Linked DNA regions of Homo sapiens: all the other regions are linked to region 3. The links are contacts of gene promoters, found by promoter capture Hi-C in human tissues and cell types (Jung and others, 2019). All regions are on one chromosome and are shown on one strand. The core of a region is centred on a gene start or on the middle of the fragment in contact, and the rest is flanking DNA. Distances in the headings are between cores, read along the strand shown.

The links. Contacts are between HindIII fragments. The study calls those that stand out against the background at their distance.
Region 1: a contact is called between a fragment that was not itself captured here and the fragment with the promoter of C22orf15 in region 3, in 2 of the 25 tissues and cell types used here (mesenchymal stem cells and thymus).
Region 2: a contact is called between the fragment with the promoter of RGL4 here and the fragment with the promoter of C22orf15 in region 3, in 1 of the 25 tissues and cell types used here (mesendoderm cells).

What each region holds. Positions count from the first base shown.
Region 1 is chr22:23,672,983-23,675,682 of GRCh38, reverse strand. It overlaps the pseudogene GUSBP11. Among named protein-coding and RNA genes, the nearest start is that of RGL4, 17 kb to the left of the region's middle. RefSeq lists an enhancer at 1,160-1,764. The HindIII fragment of the contact is 4,614 bases long and covers 1-2,700 here.
Region 2 is chr22:23,689,718-23,692,417 of GRCh38, reverse strand. It overlaps RGL4 (ral guanine nucleotide dissociation stimulator like 4), which reads right to left and starts at 1,405. Exons shown (of 11, transcript NM_153615.2): 1 at 209-1,405; 2 at 1-83. The coding sequence starts at 387. It also overlaps the pseudogene GUSBP11. The HindIII fragment of the contact is 14,351 bases long and covers 1-2,700 here.
Region 3 is chr22:23,761,735-23,764,434 of GRCh38, reverse strand. C22orf15 (chromosome 22 open reading frame 15) reads right to left here and starts at 1,445. Exons shown (of 6, transcript NM_182520.3): 1 at 1,104-1,445; 2 at 262-348; 3 at 38-175. The coding sequence starts at 1,128. The HindIII fragment of the contact is 4,822 bases long and covers 1,100-2,700 here.

The DNA.
Region 1 (2,700 bases), core at 148-2,647, 89 kb after region 3:
CTCTGCCCGGCTCCTGAAACCGGCCAAGGAGCTAATGGACACCCACCAGGGTCTTAATGAGTGAGCCAGGGTTAATGGTTTACTGGGCCCGGTGACACATTGACCAGCCTCCCAGGGCTCTCAAAGTCCAGACTGGCCTGGCCTTGAAGGTCTTAGCTCGGCCACCTCCTTTTCCAGCTTTGACACCTCGGGGCTCAGGACGGGCCTAGGGTGGTCAAGAGGTCCCCTGCAGCCCTCACTTCCTGGAAAAGGCTCCATTTCCTGGCCTTCAGGCTCAGGTGGTTCCTTCTGCCTGTCAGGTCCTCCCCAAATCCAATCCCACCTCCGGCTGGATTCCCAAGGGCCCTATTCTGGTGTCTGCCCCTTCCGTAGGGCTCTTCCCCCTGGGGTGACCATACTGTCTCATGCCCAGCCAGGTCAGGGCTCCTTGAGAGAAGAATCTGGAGGGGCCAGGATTTGATGAGAGAATGAATGATGGAATGAAAGAAGGAAGGTAAGTATGCACCTTGCTAAGAGTGACAATACTGGCAGGCTGCAGACCATGTGTGGACCTCGATCTGAGGGCTGAGAGGCTTGGGCCTGCCAGTGCTGTGGGGGCACCCACCCCATCTCATTGAATGGGGCAGAGCAGGTGAGGGCGTGATGGATGGATGGGCCTCATCCCCCTGCTCCCACTGTCTGGGGTCCTCTGTCAGCCTGTCTGCTCAGACCCTTGAAATTGGGGGTTGAGGAAGGACCCTCCTGGATCATGTGACTCCCTTCAGTCCAGGTGACCAGGGTCCTTGGAGTGACAGCTCCTAGAGCCCCACCTGTAGCCCTGCAAGCTGGGGAGAGGGCCTGTTAGGAGAGGCATCCCCTGCCCTGGGGTTGTAGAGGTGATCTAGGCTCCTCAGACCTTGTGGGGCCTCAGATGCTTACATCTCCAGCCCCTCCTGGCGTGGGCATCTGGCTGCAGCCCAGCTCTGTGGCCCCATCTCCCAGGGAACCTTTGGTCTAATCTGCCTCCCACTGAAACCCAGCCTCATTCAGCCCCACCGAGGCTTTCAGAGTTCAGGTCTCTCATTCAGGGTTTGAGACCCCACCGGACTCAGACCTGCAGCGGTCCCAGATCACACAGCCCCAGGGATGGGACCAGCAGCCAGCCATTGTCCCACCTGCAGCAGTTCTTGTGCCTTTAATGCCTCCCCCGCACCGCACTGCCCGCCCCCATGCTGCCTGGGGAGGCGGGGAGGAGAGGAGCTGGGTCACAGCGGGGAATCTTAGCTTGGTTTTAGTGTGCTGCTGGACGACCAGATCCAGAGTCTGGTGAGCCAGTGAGTGAGGGCAGCTGGCTGTGGCCCAGCGCTGTGTGACCCGGAGGAGCCACTCACTCTCTCTGAGATGCTGGACATCATAAGTGGGGAAGCTCAGGCCAGGGGACTCCCAGGAGTGTCTGGAGGCCTGAGTTCCATTCTCAGCTCTGCCGTATGCTTGCTGTGCTCTAGAGGAGTTCCTCTTCCTCTCCGAGCCTCGGTTTATGCACCTGTGCAGTGGGAGTGAGTTGCACTTCGGGGTGAAGGGGGAAACTCACGTGGGCACATCCTGCAGAGGGATCCCACAGAAGGGGAGAGCCCTGGGTTCTCTATCCAACTGCGTCTGGGCTAGGGGGCGCCTCTGTTTCTTGGCTAAGTGGGTTTGAGAGAGGTATGCCGGTGGGTGAGGGAGGGCTGGGGCAGAGTCACCTGACTTATTCGAAGAAGCCCTTGAGAGAGCCGTGGCTTCTTGGAATTGAGAGGGAAGAGTGGGCCAGACGCAGTGGTCATGCGTGTAATCCCAGCACTTTGAGAGGCCAAGGCGGGCGGATCACGAGGTCAAGAGATCGAGACCATCCTGGCCAACATGGTGAAACCTCCTCTCTACTAAAAATAGAAAAATTAGCTGGGCGTGGTGGTGCGTGCCTGTAATCTGAGCTACTCGGGAGGCTGAGGTGGGAGAATCACCTGAACCCGGGAGGTAGATGTTGCAGTGAGCCGAGATCGTGTCACTACACTCCAGCCTGGGCAACAGAGTGAGACTCTGTCTCAAAAAAAAAAAAGGAGGGGAGAGTGCAGCATGAAGAAACAGACCCAGGAGGATCTGGCAGCCCTGAATGGGGGCGGGGGGTCAGCTCTGGAGTAGAGCCAGAGCTGTGATGGGGTTGGGGGACCCTGTGTCCTTGGGCCATGCTTGCCTCACTCCTGGGTTCTGTTTGTGGCTGTGGATTGGGGTGGGGCAGGGCCATTTGTGCAAGGGGTCATTGCCCAACTCCAGGGGGTGCCTGCCACCTCTCAGCTATATATATGGGGATATATATATAGTTCTTTCAACAGGTTTCCAGCAGGTAGTGGTTATTAAATCTTACTGAAGGGGTGTTTTTTCTAATTCTCAACACTGCACCGCATGGGTAGACAGCGTGGAAGATGGATTCCAACTCCAGGTCTGGGTAGTAAGCGTCCAGTCCAGGGATGTAGACAGGCCTGGAGAAGCCACAGAGATCTGTGCGTTCTCGTACCCAGGGATAGTGACTCCAGGCTGGGGGCTGGCAGGGTAAGGGATGGGTGGGTCCTGGGCTTACCTACAGGTCTGCAGACCTCCTGGGGCCAGCTGACCTCGGTAAATCCCTTTTGTCTAAGCTTCAGTTTCCTGCCTGTGAATGGGGTTGGGGCTGTGCTCTGGTTTCAC
Region 2 (2,700 bases), core at 156-2,655, 72 kb after region 3:
TCCGGAAAGATGACCGTTGCGGGGGCTGATAGTAAACTGAAGTGTTTTCGGGGGGCCAGTTGAACAAAATGGAGGTGATGGTGCTGGTGATGGAGTAGACAGCTGAGTCAGAGGCCTGGCCTTCTCCCACACAACCCTCCAGGGCACCCCTGCGTGGTTCTGGGTCCCTGGCCTGTTGCTGCCAGTGTGGAGGACAGCCCCACCCTACCGTAAGCCATCAGTGCTGTCCTGGAAGGGGCAGACCTGGCCATACAGCAGGGCTGTACAGACCCTCGTGCGCCCTGGCGTCCCACAGACATTCTCTTCCCAAAGGCCCTGGAGCACAGCACTGTACACCTGGGCACTCAAGACTGCAGCTGCAGGCAGATTTGTGAGCAGCTTCCTCATCAAAGCTCCAGATCTGGGTCCCCTGGTCCTGGGGTTAGGAGGGAAGGGGCAGATGTCGGGGGGAGGAGGACAGGGAGAGCTGGGAAGCCACGGTGCTGAGGGGGATGGGTCTCTCAGTGGCCAGCTGTGACCCCAGCCTCCCCTCTGCTTTGCAGGGGACCTAAGTCTCCATTTACAGAACTCACTATTTGCCTCTTGTGGGGGAAGTCCCCAGATGTCAGCCTTCTCGTGGGAATTATAAGAAGTATGAGCCCCAGAGCTCCTTTAGTCTCTCCCCAGCCAGAGTCCACATATTTTCCCCCATGTTTTGTGGGTGAAAAGGCCCTTCAGAACCCTAAATCCACCCAGTTTATATTTGTTGCTGGGCTGCGTCATTCTAGTCAGAATCTGGGAGGATGCCACCATACGTAGAGGAGGCCATGAGGGTCTCACCTGTAACATTCTGTAGATATGACTTGTTTATTCTGTCTACTGTGAGTGCCTGACTCTGAGTAGAATCAAGGCCGGGGGATTGTCATCTGCTTTGTTTATGAAATTATGCCAAGCCCCAAGAAGAGCGATGCACAAATGAGGTGTTTTGAATGTATGTGTTGAATGAGTGAACCCCAACCTTTGGAGAACCCCAGTGAGCCTCTCCAGATGTCTGAGTGGGCCTGTGGCTCCTTTTTCAGCACCAAGGGACCCCTCTTCTGTCTGTGTCAAGGAGAAAGACCAGCCAGAAGGAATCTCAGACATCCTTTACCAGTGCCATCGCAGACTTGGTTTCTATGTGTTTTTCCAAACAGTGAGTGATACAGGCCATTGAGGCAGAATGCTGAGAGCTGCTTCAAGTGAGGGGGAAGAGAAAAGTAACAAACATGAATCACAGCACCCCCAGCAGATTTTCCAGAGTTTTAGGCTCTAGGGACCCCTTTGTTTGCTGTGTCTTAGATCATTGAGTCCCTACAAGAACCCTGTGAGGTTCGTCTTCTCACTACTCCCTGTTCCAGAGGAGCCAACCGAGGCTCCGAGAGGTGCATCTTCAAGACAGAGCCAGTAGGGGACAGAGGCACCTCTGTGTCTTGGAGGGGGATGGACACTCACCTTCTAACCAGTAGTTCCAAAAAGTGTGGCACAGTGATAAAGTCCCAGGAGGGGCCCAGGCAGGTGGCATAGGAGGAGATGGGTTTAGTTAGAAAGGCTGGAACCAGGGACTCCCAACAGCTTCTCCCCAGTGCCGGGCTGGAAAGTTAGCATCCTGCAGATCTCATTTTCATACTAGGGGGACAAGGAGGGACATGGGAGTCAGTGGTAACACCATGGACCACCAGAGGATCGGGATCTGGAACTCACACCAAGAAGCACCAACCCTTCAGGGACTTGTGCATATGGAGAACCTGGGTGCCCATGGTGAAAAGCGTTCTAGGCTTTCAAAGTAACATTGCATGTGAGGATGGAGAATGATAAAACGATTCCTGCCTTCAAGGCATCGTCCCGGTGTTTGTCAGCTGTGGGGCAACAGCACCCTCTGTGTCAGCAACCTGCATGAAGAGCATCATCCCTGCAAGTCCTCAAGGCCTGGGGAGGCCTCATCCCCTCCTCATTTCAGCAACAGCACACAGGACAATACGCTCTAGAAGAACTCTTTGACTTAAAGGTATATGATTGTTTTTGTTCCTTTAACATGAACGTGAGTCTGGAGAAACAGCTACGGCCATCCCAGCCCTGGCCAAGGGGAAAATGCCGGAAGACTCCAGGGTGGGAGGAAGCGCGTCCCAAGGCCCAGGATCTGCGAGGCGACTTGGGGAAAACGCAGGCAGGTATTGAACCCGTGAAAGGTTACGCAAATGTATGTTTGAAAGTGGAAATGAAACAAGGATTTTCTCTGCCACACAGACAGCAGGTTGGCGAAAAGTTAAAAGCGTGTTAGTATTCAGGGGAGGCTGCGTTCAGAGAAGCAGCTACCTTCAGAGGCTGCTGGTGACCGTGTGACCAGCTGGAGCCCTTTTGGAAAGTCAACTAGCTAGAGCTGTTGAAAGTTGATATCTGCATATCCTTTCACCCAGATATCCCTTTCCTGGGTGTCTGTCTGCTGCAGGGGATTTGTTTATTTTATGGGTTGAATTGTGTCCCCTTCCCCAAATGTAACTGTTTCTATTCTCAACCCCAGAGACTCAGAATGTGACTGTGTCTGGACACAGAGTACTCCAAGAGGTAATTCAGGTGAAGTGAGTTCATTAGGGTGGCCCCTAATTTAACATGCCTGGGGTTCTTACAAGGAGAGGGGGTCAGCGCACAGAGAAGTTCAAGAGAAGACCCTGTGCTGACTGAGAT
Region 3 (2,700 bases), core at 196-2,695:
CCATAGCTGCAGGGGAGAGAACCTTGGGCCACCTTACTGATGATCCGAACGAGGACATATATGGCTCGCTCCTTCAGTAGGGAGTTGCCCATGGTCTGGGCCCGGGAAGCCCCTTCCTTCAGGTCCTCCTCCAGGCTCACTAGGTTGCCATCCTCAGCCAGGAGAGCAATGGTCGCTGGGAGGACATGGAGAGAGACTGGGCAGGGCTGGCACCCCTGCCTGGGACCCCTCAGCCCCTCCTTCTCCTCCCTGTCTCCTCACCATCTGGGGGCAACCCTGCTTTCTGCCTCAGGTGGGCGGTGAGGTTCACCAGCCTGCAAGAGGTGTTCACCAGCACCGAGCAGCCAGCTGTGGAGAGGGGCAAAGGTGAGCCTGTGAGATCTCTTACCTTCCTCCAAATCGGGGTCCTCTGTCTCTCCCTCCCATCTCTCCCTTTCCCAGAGCTGCGACTGGGCCTATGGGCTAAGACTGTGCCCCGGGCATAACAGCTCCAACATCTGTTGCTTAAACTGCCTTGGAGAACCCTCCATCCATCTCCCATGTGTGGTGACTTTTCTCCCATGTGTGGTGACTCCCAAGTGTTGGTCTCTTGAGTCCTGCAAAGCACGAAGTGGGCGCCAGCCCAGCCTCCTCCCGGGACCCGCCCCCACGGGACCCAGCCAGTCCCCGCCCTCCGCACCCACCGGCTCCTCTCTTCCCTTCCGCTACCGCACAGGGCCGACCCGCCTCCAGCCAGAGGCACGGGGACCCTGCAACTGTGGCTAGAGTTTCAGGTGTCTGATGCACGCTGAAGCTTGAGGATCACGGATTGAATGGCGAAGAGATTGTGCGGCTTAAAAACCTGCTCCAGGGTAATGCGGCGGTCTCTGGCCGAGAGGAACCCTTGTGAATGAGCAGGACTCAGCTCGGGTTTTCCCTTTAAGGGACTCGCTCCAGGTGCTGGCTTCGCCTCCTCACAGAGCCGCTTCCCCGACGACCCCCGCCATGTGCACCACCCCCCTTTCCCGCCATTGCCTCCCCACCCACCGCAAGGGCGGAAGGAAGCACGCCTCTGAGTGTGCTCATCCCCCTATCCGCCTACCAAGACAGGGGACCCCACTTACCCCCAAACATCACCTTGATAAACATAGCTGCAGCGGGTGAGGGAGATGTGGGGGGCTTTGATCCCCCAACTCTCGATTCCCCAACTAAGGAAAAGCGTGGAGCAGAGACCTGCTTCAGGGCCGGGCTCTGGAGGGAGAAGTGGATGTGTGAGTGTGGATGGCTGGGTCCCAGGGCCAGGCCCCTGCTCAGCCACCTCTGTGGTTCTGCTGCTTCAGCCTAGCTCAAACCCTGCAGCTAGTCCAAGACTCCTGGCCTCCTCTTCCTCCCCACTGAGCCCTGGGCCACAGCAGCTCCCCTAAGCTTCCAAGCTGGTCTCCATGGCAGTGGGGGCGGAGACATCTAGGCAGGAAATGCCTTCCTCCCTGTATCCGTTAACGGGGCCCATGGGGGAGAGGTGACAGAAGAAGTGGGGGCTGGCATTCCCTGAGGCGGGGAATGCCATCATTGGGATTGATTTTTTTTAGAGACAGTCTCCCTATGTTGCCCAGGCTGGTCTCGAACTTGGCTCAAGCAATTCTCCAGCCCCAGCCTCCCACAAGTGCTGGGATTGCAGTTGTGAACCACTTGTACAGTAAAGTTCACCCTTTCTGGTGTTTTAAAGTTATGCCAACTCTCATATAACCACCACCACAGTCAAGATACAGAACATTTCCATCACCCCCAAATTCCTTTGCCCCCTTTGTACTCAGCCCTAGTCGCTTCCAGGTCCATAGCAGGTCACAAGCACCTCCTTGTTAGCACTGGCCACTAGCTAGTCCCTCACACCGGTTCTCACCGTCATTTCCTGTCTTTTATTTATTTATTTATTAAGTTTATTAATTATTATTATTATTGGTGTTTTTTAAATTTTTATTTTTTGAGATGGAGTCTCCCTGTCACCCAGGCTAGAATGCAGTGGTACGATCTCGGCTCACTGCAACCTCCGCCTCCCGAGTTCAAGCGATTCTCCTGCCTCAGCCTCCCAAGTAACTGGGACTACAGGTGTGCACCACTACACCTGGCTAGTTTTTTTTTTTTTTTTTTTTTTTTTTGAGACGGAGTCTCGCTCCCTCGCCCAGGCTGGAGTGCAGTGGTGTGACCTCGGCTCACTGCAAGCTCCGCCTCCCGGGTTCACGCCTTTCTCCTGCCTCAGCCTCCTGAGTAGCTGGGACTACAGTCGCTCGCCACCACGCCCAGCTAATTTTTTTTGTATTTTTAGTACAGACGGGGTTTCACCATGTTAGCCAGGACGGTCTCAATCTCCTGACCTCGTGATCTGCCCGCCTCGGCCTCCCAAAGTGCTGGGATTACAGGATTACAGGCGTGAGCCACTGCGCCCGGCCTTTTTTTGTATTTTTAATAGAGATGGAGTTTCACCATATTGGTCAGATTGGTCTCGAACTCCTGACCTCAAATGATCCGCCCATCTTGGCCTCCCAAAGTGCTGAGCCACCAAGCCTGACCTATTTATTTTTTTTTGAGAATGAGTCTCGCTCTGTCAGCCATGCTGCAGTGCAGTGGCGCAATCTCGGCTCACTGCAACCTCCGCCTCTCGGGTTCAAGCGATTCTCCTGCCTCAGCCTCCGGAGTAGCTGGTATTACAGGCGCCAGCCACCA